5 separate regions of the Homo sapiens genome follow, and all the other regions are linked to region 3. Evidence: promoter capture Hi-C in human tissues and cell types (Jung and others, 2019). All regions are on one chromosome and are shown on one strand. Each heading gives the region's core, a stretch centred on a gene start or on the middle of the fragment in contact. The rest is flanking DNA. Distances are from core to core; before and after follow the strand shown. Region 1 overlaps SLC5A1 (solute carrier family 5 member 1). Region 2 holds the start of DRG1 (developmentally regulated GTP binding protein 1). Region 3 holds the start of PISD (phosphatidylserine decarboxylase). Region 4 has its middle 25 kb from the start of C22orf42. Region 5 overlaps LOC105372998 (a long non-coding RNA gene).

The links. The method cuts DNA at HindIII sites, captures the fragments that hold promoters and counts their contacts. A contact is called where the count stands out against the background at its distance.
Region 1: a contact is called between a fragment that was not itself captured here and the fragment with the promoter of PISD in region 3, in 2 of the 25 tissues and cell types used here (lymphoblastoid cells and mesendoderm cells).
Region 2: the fragment with the promoter of DRG1 here is called in contact with the fragment with the promoter of PISD in region 3 in 1 of the 25 tissues and cell types used here (hippocampus).
Region 4: a fragment that was not itself captured here is called in contact with the fragment with the promoter of PISD in region 3 in 1 of the 25 tissues and cell types used here (lymphoblastoid cells).
Region 5: a contact is called between a fragment that was not itself captured here and the fragment with the promoter of PISD in region 3, in 1 of the 25 tissues and cell types used here (IMR-90 fibroblasts).

The regions. Positions count from the first base shown.
Region 1 is chr22:32,082,283-32,084,982 of GRCh38, reverse strand. It overlaps SLC5A1 (solute carrier family 5 member 1), which reads right to left. Exons shown (of 15, transcript NM_000343.4): 7 at 1,829-1,909; 8 at 324-544; 9 at 1-83. Among named protein-coding and RNA genes, the nearest start is that of SLC5A1, 40 kb to the right of the region's middle. The HindIII fragment of the contact is 6,109 bases long and covers 1-2,700 here.
Region 2 is chr22:31,398,185-31,400,884 of GRCh38, reverse strand. It overlaps DRG1 (developmentally regulated GTP binding protein 1), which reads right to left and starts at 1,281. Exons shown (of 9, transcript NM_004147.4): 1 at 1,160-1,281; 2 at 142-265. The coding sequence starts at 1,201. RefSeq lists enhancers at 1,172-1,221, 349-1,254 and a silencer at 1,342-1,621. The HindIII fragment of the contact is 5,082 bases long and covers 1-2,700 here.
Region 3 is chr22:31,660,877-31,663,576 of GRCh38, reverse strand. PISD (phosphatidylserine decarboxylase) reads left to right here and starts at 1,362. Exons shown (of 8, transcript NM_001326411.2): 1 at 1,362-1,433. The coding sequence starts at 1,369. RefSeq lists enhancers at 1,322-1,621, 1,862-1,911, 1,129-2,328, 2,302-2,441, 1,737-2,630 and 1 more. The HindIII fragment of the contact is 10,896 bases long and covers 1-2,700 here.
Region 4 is chr22:32,132,729-32,135,428 of GRCh38, reverse strand. It overlaps the pseudogene AP1B1P1 and the pseudogene AP1B1P2. Among named protein-coding and RNA genes, the nearest start is that of C22orf42, 25 kb to the left of the region's middle. The HindIII fragment of the contact is 8,200 bases long and covers 1-2,700 here.
Region 5 is chr22:31,922,664-31,925,363 of GRCh38, reverse strand. It overlaps LOC105372998 (a long non-coding RNA gene), which reads left to right. Exons shown (of 3, transcript XR_001755494.2): 3 at 1-69. Among named protein-coding and RNA genes, the nearest start is that of YWHAH, 21 kb to the left of the region's middle. The HindIII fragment of the contact is 5,629 bases long and covers 1-2,700 here.

The DNA of each region.
Region 1 (2,700 bases), core at 166-2,665, 420 kb before region 3:
ATCAGCTTTAGATACCCACACAGGATGCAGCCACCCTTCACGTGAGACATATTCTTGGCTGAGAGGCAGCGCTGCACAATGACCTGCCAGAAAAAGCCCAGTAAGGGAGGTGTGCAGACCAGAGACCCTGTGACACCTTTGTACTTCCTAGCTTCGCCATCTTGGGTCATTGGCCTGGCACTGCTGTATCACTGGGGCGTGGCAACTTACAAACCACCTGAGCTCTCCCCTCCCTGTCCCAACCCTGCAAACCACAGACAGACAGGAGTTCCTGTAGGGCCCTGGAGAAGACTCTGTCCATCCCGCACATCCAGCTTGGGTACCTGATCTGTGCACCAGTACCACAAGGTAAGGATGGACATCCCAAAGATGAACCCAGGCCATGGGAGGTCTCCCGTGAGGGGATCTCGGAAGATGTGGAAGGAGTCGGCCCTTGGAGTGTAGCATTTTTCCTGAAAGGTGGTGTTGCCATCAGACACTATGGTTGGAATGGCTTTCATGTACTTTTCCATGAAGGCGTCATAGCCTCCCACTTCGTGAAAAGCTGGAAAACATCGGTACAGAAATGAACATTCTGAAACCTTCAACTCGTCATAGCAGCTTCTTTCCATAGATGCCTGAGAAACTGAGAGGACCCAACCCACAGACAGAGCCCTCACTGAGTGGCCTTGGGCAAATCACCTTCCCATTCTGGGCCTCAGCTTTGTCATCCATAGAATGAGATTAGTAGCCCTGCCCAGCCCCCTTGGGGGCTATTATGGGGACCAAAGCAATCACTTGTAAAAGTACTCCAACTGTAAACCTCTTTGTAAAAGGGAAGGGACTTTTATTAATCAAAGAAAGACCTTGGTTTGGGACCACATACAAAGACTCTGTTTTTTCCCTCACCCTCTGCTGTCAGCCATGGCCTTTGGAGCCTTGGACTCAGGCCTAGAGACACACAGACCTAGACACACACAGTGGCCTTTGGGACCTCAGACCCACACCTACCACTCCTGGACCCAGCATGTGGTGGGATGGACAGGGAATGGGTGAGGAATCCAGAACCTGCCACCTCTCAATTGTGTGTCCTTGAATAAGTCATTCCACTGCCTGCCTAGCTAACACCCAAGGCCTGCTGGGGAGAACCAAATGAAAGTCCTTAGAAAACAGAAGAGTGGAGAGCAAATACAAGTTTTTGCAGGATACACAGTGGGCCTTGAGCACCTAGAAATAAAATGTACTTTCTATCCTCCCATAATAAGTACCCTTACCTAGGTTCTCCAGTCTCATCTTTAAGATTTCATAGACAAGTAAAATTGCAAAAAAAAAAAAAATTAATTGGAGGGCCAACCCTGAGGAGCCAAGTTTTTAATTTTGCCAAATAGGGGCATTAAAAGGAACATTATCACCCACTATCAACAATTCATAAAAGAAAGGATATTTGACATCAAAATGTAGATAAGATATAGCCTAAGATGGAAGACGCAACATTTGACTAGATTTAGCTTGATGGATATTTAGCCTTATCCTTTTTTGTCCAGTTTCTCTGCAAACAGAACACCATGTTATCACAGGCTCACAGCACAACCACTAGCCCAGACTGGTGAGAGAGGGCAGCAGAAAATCCAGGACCAGCCCCAGCTTCAGTCTTCCAGGGATAAGGAAGCTGACCCTGCATACCCACAATGACAGCCCATCTGGGCTGGACCCTCCGTTTGGAAGGGCAGAGCATGCCTCAGCTCACTGCCTAGTCTGGCAAGCAGGTAGAGAGGCTGGACTTGCCTTCCTCTTCCTGAGGCCCTCTACCTCTGCTCCCACCTCCTCAGCCTGCCCTGGCCCCACTTACCAAACCCAGTCAGGATTAAAGACCCCACCAGCATGATCACCGTCTGCAAGGTGTCCGTGTAAATCACCGCCGCCAGGCCCCCTAAGCAGGCAAGAAGACAACACATCTGACCTCGTGTGGAGGGTGACCTGTCTACTTGCTTCCTTCCCCACTCTCCACCCTCTACTTCTGCTGGCCTTCTGAGAACATCCCCACAGTGGTTTGCCTGCCTCTCCTTCCTTCCCTCCCTTGTCCTGTTACAGTATTTTGCTATTCAGCATGTTCCCACAGCTCCACCTGTCATAGAAGTGGCGAATGTTTCTCCCTACTTGAGGGGAAAGAGTCTGGTGTGACCCTTTTGAGCCAGAAGATGGCTCAAAGGAGATGACTCCTCTGTGGTAAGAAGAAGCGTCTTCCACACACAAGGCAGGGAGGAGCAAAGAGCTGGCTGTGGAGATGGTGGGACATATGTCTACCTTTTTCTTAGTCCCCAAAGCTGTGGGGCTGCAGTCAAGCAGCAAGTTCTAAAGCTGATCCCTCCCACCCCCACCAAGGAGGCAGAGTGACCCCTCTGCAAAGGAGCCCCAATTGCTATTTATGCACCAGCTTCTTGGGTGGCCACTTGAGTCCTCTTCTGAAACCTCTGTGTGTGAGTCACTGCCTTTCTCCCTCCTTACAGGGGCTCCCAGTCCCTGACACATCAAATCCAAGGCCTCTGCCTGGCTTTCCAAACCCCAGTATACTGTGTTCAAAACACACAGTATGCTGTGACCTCATCTGAACTATCAAGCTATATGGTCCCCACAAACCCCCACGATCCTTCAGTGGCCACCCTCCTCCAGCCAAGAGCATCTGCGTGCCCACCCTGCCTCCACTCCCCTGTGCTCACTTAT
Region 2 (2,700 bases), core at 32-2,531, 260 kb after region 3:
TATCTCAGCCTCCCAGCATGCTAGGATTGCAGGCGTTGAGCCACTGCACTGGGCCATCTTTAGTTATTTTTAAACCACATGTATGTACTATTTTGACAAAAATTATACCTAAAAATATATATATTGAAGAAGAACACAAACCTTCTCCTGGACCTCCACCACCACCACCCTTTGGAGTAATGAGTTCTCGACGAAGCTTAGCAAGACGAGCCTTAAGCAGCCCTAAGTGGTGTGCTGTGGCCTTGTTCTTTTGAGTCCGAGCCATCTAAAAGGGAGGAATCACAGCCATAAATTAGAAGCAGTGAACGCTTCCCCCAGCTTTGAGAGGATAATTTTTTTCCCCAAGTCCTACTAATGTTAGCACACCCAGTTTACAGGCTTTAAAAGAGTAAAAGTCCATTATCTCCTCCATCCAGCTCATTTCCCTCACTACAAAGCAAAGCAAAGCCCAAAGAGGAAAGACGATTAAGGTCATTCCAATTAGTGCCCCCAGACTAGACTGAAACCCGTCTGCGGGTTCCTTTTCTACTATTTGCAGCTGTTTGGATCCATCTAACACTGGGACACCACTTTCCTAATTGTAAAGCGCTCTCAGGGCCGCACGCAATGGAATCACACACTATCCAGGCGGAATAAACTGCTCCCACACAGATGTCATTTTACTTCCAGATCCGATTACCGGGAGCAAATACTCTGAATCAGGGGGTCATTAGGGTAGACACTGGGAAAAGGGGGAATAAGGGGGACGCAGCGAAGGATGATGAGGAAAGATCCTGAACTATCTGACCAAGTCAGAGATGGAATAAGGGACAGGATTCAGTGTTTCTCAGAGCAAAACGGAAAGAAACAACATCAGAACAGGAGCCAAACACTGGGAGGGGGAACGGACTAAGGGCCTAAGGTGCAGGGGTGCGGAACGCGGGCCCGGGCAAAGGGGAGTCCGAGAGCGTAGACGCGGGACGAGGGGAAAGGGGGCCCTGACTGAGGAGAGTCGGGGACTCCTAATCGTGGCAGAGGGCAGTCGGAACACGGGCCTCGCTGAGAGAAGTCGCGGAATCTAGGCCCGGTCCTGACGCGGCTCAAAGGAGAACAGGAAGGAGCGACGCCACCAAAGAAGGAATGCTCAGACTAAGAGTGAACCGCCAGCTGCGTCCATTACCTCTGCTTCTATCTCCGCGATCTTAGCTAAGGTGCTGCTCATCGTGGCGAGTACCCTGTGGCCTCCACACTGTCTCCCTTCACACACCCGCGGGCAAACTGCCACCGCCACCAGGCGCTACTGCAGCACGCAGGCGCGGTACTTCGAATTACCGCGAGAGAGTTCCGCGTAGGGGTCACCGCGAGTCGCAAAGCGTGGGGCTGTCTCCTCCCCCTCACCCGACCCCGCCCCGTCCCGCGAGCCAGTGCGGTGTCATAGAGCCCGCGGGAGCGGAGGCCAGAGAGGCCACCCCTGTCTGGGCCTCCCCGAGCGCGCCGAGGGTCGCGCGCAGCTCGGCCCCGCCCAGCGGGACCCGCTCCCAGCTGCTCTGCATGGTACTGAACGCTTCAGTGCTGGAGACCCCAGGGCGTGGTGCAAAGCCGACTCATGCTCCGCACCCCTGTTCCTCGCCAGCATCTGCGGGTCCTGGGTCCCTTTTTCACAGCTGGGGTGACACCCCGACGCCCTCCATGGTCTTGGAGGGAGTAGAGACCCATCTTCAGCCTGCCTCACCCCCTTGGATAAAGAAAATGCCCCCTTTCTATCATTCAAAATTATTTTTAGGTCGGTTTTGTTTACTCCGAACCCCGAGTAGAGCACATGGGGAGCCCAAAATAAGTGCATACTTGAATGGATAATTCCCAGAGAACTGCTGCTTGCAACATAGTTTGTAATACCAAAAAATTGAAATCTATATTAACACCCATCAGTAGGAAAATGGATAAATGAATAATGCCTCTATCCTGTTTTTGAAATATGATTACAGCCGTTAAAACGTAGATCTGTGGTCTGACTGGCTACCCAGGACATGTTAAATGGGAAAACAACTAGCAGAAGGGCACCTACGTAGTGATACCATTTATGTTATTTTTAAAATTAAATGTACATTTATATAGGTGTACGTGTATGAACGTGCAGTTTAAAGGCCTAAACAGAAAAATACATCAGAAGCTCTTAACTGTGGGATGGGATGCAAAGAAAAGGCCTTTCACATTTTATTCCACAGAATTTTGAAGTTAAATTTTTACAAGACGAATGTATCCATGTATTACTTGTGTAATAATAAAATTTAAAATTTCAAAAGACTCCTCTTCCCCAAGTGTCATGAGGAAGCCAGGACGTCCAGGAACTATGTGGTGGTTTTGAAAGCGGTTTGCCTCAGGATCAATGGGTTGTTTTGATAGATTGATTATTCCAGCGGGAGTCGACAGGCCAGGCTTAACCCACAGTCGACAGGCCAGGCTTAACCCACAGGGCTGGCCTCCACCCAGCCCTGGGAGGGAAGTTTAATTTAGTTAAATTTGTAAACAAGAACTATTCTAACTTCCCAGAGACAAAAAAGGGAGGTTTTCTTGTGCATAAAGAGGGAGAAACAGAAGGGAAAGCTTTTACAGAAGGTCCCCAAAGGGCCAAAGAGAGTTTCTTCTTTCTTTTCTTTAACCTCAGCCTTTTTCATAAATAAATTAAGGGATGATGAGGTAATTAGATCCCACACTATTAGC
Region 3 (2,700 bases), core at 113-2,612:
AAACCATGACAAAGGGAGGTTTCTTCCCCCCAATACCAAACCTGGTGCCTTTTAAGCTCTCTGTAGGAGCTGAGTATGCCCTAGTTGAACTTAAGCCAACTACACAGAAATACCTGCAGGGACCAGGGAGCATATTCCTCCTCCTGTCAAATGCCTGGTGAAGGCAACTGTGATTATCAGCTTAGCAGATGAAAAAGTAGGGCTGCATTCCTTCAGTTGTTGGACCCAAATTCTGCCAGATTCTGACAAAGGGCTTAAAAGGAAGAATGTTTAGGCCAGGTGCGGTGGCTCACGCTTGTAATCCCAGCATTTTGAGAAGCCGAGGCGGGCGGATCACGAGGTCAGGAGATCGAGACCATCCTGGCTAACATGGTGAAACCCCGTCTCTACGAAAAATATATATAAAAAAATTAGCCGGGCGTTGTGGCGGGCGCCTGTAGTCCCAGCTACTCGGGAGGCTGAGGCAGGAGAATGGCGTCAACCCGGGAGGCGGAGCTTGCAGTGAATCGAGATCGCGCCACTGCACTCCAGCCTGGGCGACAATGAGAGACTCTGTCTCAAAAAAAAAAAAAAAAGAAGAAGATGTTTAGGACATGGTTTTTGGAGTCAGAGACGTATGTTCAAATTCTGGCTTCACTATTTTATAGTCTTTGGGCATATGCCCTTTATGTACCCTTGAAGATGTTGCTTAACCTTCCTGAGCCTCAGGTACCTCATCTTTAAAATGGGGATAATGTCTCGGGCCTAGCTGCGAGTCTCTAGTCAGTGCTCAGTAAAAAGTAGCAGACATGATTGAAAACTCGTTTTCCTCTTACAATTGAAGATAGGAACCTTTTCAAGAGCAAGCACCAGGCACCGAATTTAACGACTGGTTGCATTTCTAGGTGATCCAAGACCGTTTGCCCCCGGTCTCCCTGGCAGCACAGCGGTAGGAGATAAGAATGATATGACACCATGCTTGCAAAGTGCTCACAACACACTCCGGCGCTTAAAAAACGAGAGCTGAGTCATGGATGCCCAGTTTCCCCATCCGTAAAATGAGCAAGTTCGATCACTTGAAACGACATTCTTGGATCTTGGATGACTCAGATTTTCCAGGTACATGAGGAAAGGCACCCAGAGGGAAGGAGGAGGAGTGGCAGTGCTGCGACCAAGCCCAGGTTTAGCGAAACCTACAGCTCCACTAGTTCCCCTACCTCCGCAGGTGCCAAGCGGGTTAGGTGGGGAGTAGCCACAGGGCGGAGCTTAGTCGGCTCCGCCCCCAACCCGCGCTTTTCTCATTGGCCCACTGAACTCGAGACTCGTGACGCCTTAAGCGTGCGCCCAGCGTGTGAAGGGGGCGTGGCACGCTGAGAAGGAGCAGACAAGATGGCGACGTCCGTGGGGCACCGATGTCTGGGATTACTGCACGGGGTCGCGCCGTGGCGGAGCAGGTATAGCAGCGCGGAGAGACTACCTTGGGGCGTGGGGCAACCTGGACCAAGCTGGGGTCTGAAGAGAGATGTTTCTGTGTCGCGGGCTCGCTCTGAGGCGAGCTCGGGTGGAGACGGAGCCACCTTCACCTCGAGCTTAGGAGCAGGTGCGACTGCTCCTGCGTAGGGCGGTCCGGATTTACTTAGGGTGTGGCCTAGAAGCTCGCGCTTTGCCCTTTCCAGCTAGGTGGAAGTTCACGAGGGACAAAAATCAGATGAAATAGGCTACCTGCCCGTCTCTTGAGTCGAGGCAGGGCTTTCAGATGTTCAGATGCCATTTTCTCGTGTGTTCGTTTTCGTAGAAGGAATGATGTCCTGTGGGAAGGACACTAGATTGAGTGTCAGGCAACTTTCATTTCTGGATCTTAGTCTTTGAAGCTAGAGGGTTAGGTTAGGTAATCTCAAAACAATATGTTATGGGGCTAGAGTCTTGGTTACCCTTGTGACCCCCAGCTGTTAGATTCTTAGAAATGTGGGAGACTTGAGGGGTCTTCTGAGTCCAGCTGTCTCTCTTTGGAGTTAATGAGATTGAGGCTCCGAGAGAGGGAGGGATTTGCTCAAGTTCACCTAGCCAGTTTGTAGCAGAGCCCGGACCCCCATCAAGGTACCCCCTCACGCGACGATCTTTCTCTCAGGCTGCCCGCCGTGAGGGCAGTGGTTATACAGAAAATAGCTTAGAGCATTTGGAGTGTCGGAAAATGGATTAAAATGTAGCTGTGATTCAGAGTCGGCTGCCTGGTGTCATTTCAAAGAGCTAAGATTTGAGAGATGCGCCATACTTGTGTGTTTCCTACAGGGTTCATTTTGTCAGCGTTGATCAGAGGATAACCTATTGTTTTGGGAGGAGACGGACACTGGATTTGGACTGAGAGGGAACAGAAACCATCATTGGTCTTGTTATGAAAGCGTCACTCTTTCATCATTAACTGTACAGAAATGATTATCTCTCAGGAGAGGGCTCTGCATTGTGGTGGTAACTGTTAGAATTTGGGCAGGAGACTTTGTTTTCAATGTTATTACCAGGCGTGCTGTGTATGAGTCAACCCTGAATTCATTTAAAGTGTGTCACAGGCTGGGCGCGGTGGCTCACGCCTGTAACCTCAGCACTTTGGTAGGCCAAGGTGGGTGGATCACTTGAGGTCAGGAGTTCGAGACCAGCCTGGCCAATGTGGTGAAACCCTGTCTCTACTAAAAAATACAAAAATTAGCCGGGCATGGTGGCAGGCAC
Region 4 (2,700 bases), core at 91-2,590, 470 kb before region 3:
AGTGCTGGGTGATGGGAACAGAGAGCAAATGCTTTGAGTTTGGGGTAGTGGGCTGGGGTGATGAGGGAAGGCAGGAACACGGGAAAGGCGGACCTTGAATTTTTTTTATTTTTTTGAGAGGGAGTCTCGCTCTGCCGCCCAGGCTGGAGTGCAGTGGCATGATCTCAGCTCACTGCAACCTCTGCCTCCCGGGTTCCAGCAATTCTCTGCCTCAGCCTCCCGAGCAGCTGAAATTACATGTGCCCGCCACCATGCCCAGCTAATTTTTCTATTTTTAGTAGAGATGGGGTTTCACCATCTTGGCCAGGTGGTCTTGAACTCCTGACCTCGTGATCTACCCTCCTCGGCCTCCCAAAGTGCTAGGATTACAGGTGTGAGTTACCACGCCCGGCCTTGAATGGGTTTTTAAAGATGAGAAGACAAGCTGGGTCACGGGGCGCTCCCACAGGGGAAGCATGAGCCAAGGTGCGGCAGCCGCTCTACGCACGACCTGCTTTAGCCATCGGGTGCGACAGAGGCTGCACACCGGTGACAAATTAGAGAAATCCAATCTGCACATATGTTTTATTTGCACCACACAGTGTTTGTTTAATATCATCTGGCCACTTAGGGAGATTTAAAATGAAAAATCCAGATTTCCCATTCTTTTTTTTTTTTTTTGAGACGGAGTCTTGCTCTGTCACCAGGGCTGGAGTGCAGAGGTACAATATCGGCTGACTGTAACATCCACCTCCCAGGTTCAAGCAATTCTCCTGCCTCAGTCTCCCGAGTAGCTGAGATTACAGGCATGCACCACCACGCCTGGCTAATTTTTATATTTTTAGAGGAGACGGGATTTCACCATATTGGCCAGGCTGGTGTCGAACTCCTGACCTTGTGATCCGCCCGCCTGCGTCCCCCAAAGTGCTAGGATTACAGGCATGAGCCACCACGCCTGGCCCAGATTTCCCATTCTTTTTAAAAACTAGAAGACCTGGCCACACTGGGTCCTCTTCCCCAGCCAGTACTGATCCTCTGGAGTTTCTAAGAGAGTTCATGCCACACCCACTCCATCGCCTGCTGCCTTTCCCACCTACTCCAGTTAACTCACTCCATCACCACCTGACCTGTCGGCATCTGGGCTTGTGATTCCTGAGTAAACAAAATTTTCTACTGGGAATAAAGTTTTATGAAGGGAGCTGTATGAGGGGAGACATGGGTCCCTAGACACCCTAAAGGAGAGACTGAAGTGGACCCCAGCTATAAACCCTCCCGTCAGCCAGCTTCCAGCTGCCACCAGGCCTACTCCTGCACACCTGACATCTTTGCCCACGGTCATTGATGCAATCACTTTCTTCACTGCCTCCTCCTCCTTCTCCTTCTTGTCACTATTGAGCTCTGCCTTCAGCTCAAAGATCTCCCCTAAGGAAAGGAGGCAAGCATGAGTGATCCCTCCCTACCCTGGCAGGGGATAATTCCCGGTATCTAACTTCCAAATGAACCAGAGGGAGGCACGTAAGACATACTATGCTGTTGGCTGAGGACAGCTTCAGGTGCCTGGCCTCAGGTGGGACAGGCAACAGTGCGGGACGACTATTAGGATAGGAATTAACAAGATGGAAGCTTGGAGATCAAGTGCAGTAGCTCACACCTGTAATCCCAGCACTTTAAGAGGCTGAGGATCGGCCGGGCACAGTGGCTCATGCCTGTAATCCCAGCGCTTTGGGAGGCTGAGGCGGCGGATCACGAGGTCAGGAGATCAAGACCATCCTGGCCAACACAGTGATAGTGAAACCTCGTCTCTAATAAAATACAAAAAATTAGCCTGGTATGGTGGTGCATGCCTGTAATCCCAGCTCCTCAGGAGGCTGAGGCAGGGGAATCACTTGAATCTGGGAGTCTGAGGCTGCAGTGAGCTGTGACGGTGCCACTGCACACCAACCTGGGTGACAGAGCAAGACCCTGTCTCAAACGAACAAAAAACAAACATGTTTTTTGTAGGAGAAAGATCTAAATCCTGGTTCTGCTGCCTGCTAACCCCCAGCAAGTTGAAATCACTCTGAGCCTCAGTTTCCTCATCTATAGAATCAAGATGATGATGCCTACTTCACAGGGTTGCTGGGGGCTTAACTGACATAACGCATGTAAAGAACAAGGCCAGGCAAGGCTGAGGTGGGTGGACTGCTTGAGCCCAGGAGTTTGGTTGGGTGAGACCAGTCTGGACGACACAGTGAAAACCTGTCTCGACAAAAAATATAAAAATTAGTGGGTATGTTGGCATGCATCTGTAGTCCCAGCTACCTAGGAGAATTGATTGAGCCCAGGAGGTTGGGGCTGCAGCTCCAGCCTGGGGGACAGAAATCCTGCCTCAAAAAAAAAAAAAAAAAAAAAAAAGAACAAGCACAGTACTGGCATGTAGTACATCCTGTATAGATGCCAACTCCCCACTTCCTCTGACTTGGAGGGTATCTTGTTGGTTAAGACCATAAGTCAGGTGAGCCCTAGCTGGGGGACCTGCACATTTCCCTCCACCTCTCTAAGCTGGAGCTCCCTCATCTGGAAAGTGGGGGATGATGATGAAAGTTGCATTAAAGACTAAAGTGTGGAAAGCACCCGGCAGAGCCCCAGACACCCAGTGAGAATTCAATGAGCAGTGGCTCTGGCACCACCCACGTACTGAACTCAACAGAGGTGCCCTGGGCTTCTGTTAGCTCCCAGGCC
Region 5 (2,700 bases), core at 96-2,595, 260 kb before region 3:
TGAATGAATGTTTGGATGTACAGGAATTAGATAAATAGATACATGGATGGATGGGTATATAGACGGATGAGTGAGTGTATGTATGTATGTATGGATGGATGCATGCATGCATGAATGGATGGATGGGTAGATAGATGGATAGGTGGATGTTTGGATGAACAGAAGTTGGATAAATAGGTGGATGGATGGATGGACAAGAATTTGATCAATAGGTATATGTATAGATGCATGAATGGATAGATGGATGTATATATGGATGGATGGATGGATGGATGGATGGATGGATGGATGGATGGATGTTTGGATGAACACGAGTTGGATGAGTAGGTGTATGGATGGATGGGTATATGGATGAATGAATGTTTGGAATCAAGCGATTCTCGTGCCTCAGCCTCTCGAGTAGCTGGGATTACAGGCATGAGCCACCACACCTGGCTAATTTTTGTATTCTTAGTAGAGATGGGGTTTCCCCATGTTGGCCAGGCTGGTCTCAAACTCCTGACCTCAGGTGATCCTCCCGCCTCGGCCTCCCAAAGTGCTGGGATTACAGGCGTGAGCCACCGCACACGGCCTCATAAACTGTTTTTCTCTGTGAGTCTCTTCCTCTCCACCAGAGAGTGGCATTCCTTATTCCCCAGGAATTAGTAAACTCCCTGGAGACAGATGTGCCAGGAATGTGCCCACATCTCACAAAATGCCCTTTTGTGGCCTGGGCACCCCTTCTTTCTTTTATTTTTGAAACAGGGTCTCACTCTGTCACCCAGGCTGGGGTGCAGTGGCACGATCTTGGCTCACTGCAGCTGACTTCCTGGACTCAAGCAATTCTCCCACCTCAGCCTTCCGAGTAGCTGAGATTTCAGGCACATGCCACTATGCCCAGCTAGTTTATTATTAATAGTAGCGGTAGAGACGAGGCCTCACTATGTTGCCAAGGCTGGTCTCAAACTCCTGAGCTCAAGCAATCCTCCCATCTTGGCCTCCCAAAGCACTGGGATTACAGGCGTGAGCCACTGTGCCCGGCTGGCACCCCTTCTTTCAATCCTCACAGGACTCTGAGGGAGGCGTGATTTACCCCCATTTTAAACAGCAGGAAACTGATTTGCCCCGGGTCACACAGATAAAAAGTGGTAAAACTAGTGCTGAAACCCAGGTCGATTTGAATCCAAGGCCAAAATCCTTAACCAGTACCCGCAGGCGGGGATAGTCCCTCCAACAGCCCAAATATGGCTGCCACACCTGTGCCTGGCCACCATGGGTGGGGTAGCCCATTCTATTGTTGAATTCCTGCCTGTCAAAGAGTTTATTCTAACCCACTTGAAATATGCCCCTCTGAAACTGCTACCCAGTGACCCTGACTCTGCTCCCTGGTTACAGAACCAGTGCTTCCCCTCTTCCACATGGCAGCCCGTCAATAATTTACAGCCAGCCGTCCTGTCTCCCCTGCATCTGATCCTCTCCAGGGAGGGGTGGCAGAGGGGAGAGACTGCAAACCTGGAACTACAAAATCCAAGTTCTCATCCTGGCTCAGCCACTGTCCACAGACCAGTAAATTTCAAAAGAAAATTAAATAGGTGATTTTGACAAACAAGGACACTGAAAAAAATGGCCAACTCCTAGCACCCTTGTTTCATAAAAGAAAGGGCATCCTGACACAGAAAAAAGTAGGGCAGACAATTTCAGAATTAATTTATCTTCATAAAAACTCCCGACTTTGTCCCTGTTTCTCTGATTTCACCATGTCCTGGTGCTGACTCTGTGGGGGACTGGCCCAGGTCTGTAGGCCTTTGAGAACCTTTGCTCCAACCCATTAAAGAAAACACTGCTGGCCAGAAAAACCAAAGTAGAGGATTCCACCATCAGGACACGGTAAGTGACCCTGTTTGAAGAGGGAAGGAAGAGCTGAAAGTGCCTGGCACTGAGAAATGGCTGAGCTCAGGAAATGAGACAGACTTCTCCATTGCATTGTGGTTTCATATCCAGTTTCTATCTCAGCTTAGAGGGACAAAGGCTTTTCCTACTCCACGGGTACCCTGTGACCACCCAAGGTCACGTCTCTAGCCGGCAGAACTCACTGGAAGTCAAGAAGGCTGTTTCTGTCCCATGGCAGGAGGCCAGTGAGAAAGGCTGGTTTTATTCAAAGGCAGCAGATTTTCTCTTGGGGAAGTTTTGGGCTTGGTCTGAAGGATGACCGTCTAACCCAAAGGCTTTCTCATTACTCATTCATTCATTTATTATTTACGAGATATCTTCTATGTGCAAGGCACTGTTCTAACGTTAGGAGTACCAAGGTGAGCAAAGAATGATATGGTCTCTGTTCCTGTGGAGCTTAGTGTTGATTAGAAAAGGCTGACATTAATTCAAGTTGAAGGAATAAGTGTAAACTGACGGCTGTGATGAAGGCTACAGCAGAGGCACATGTTACTCTGAGAGTGTGATATAAGGAGGGTTCCCCTAGTCGGAGGTCATGGAAGGCTGAGATAGTAATGGCCGAGCTGAGATCGAAAGAAGGAAGAGTAGGCATTCACCAGGTGAAGATGGAGGGAAAGCATATTCCAGGGAGAGTGCTTGGTGTGGGATGAACATAAATCACATGAAGAACTGCAGTGAGGCTGGTACGACTGCAGGGCGGTGACCAACAGGAAAGAGCATGCAAGATGAGGCTGGAGAGGTAGGTGGAGGCTCACATGTTGCTGGATAGGT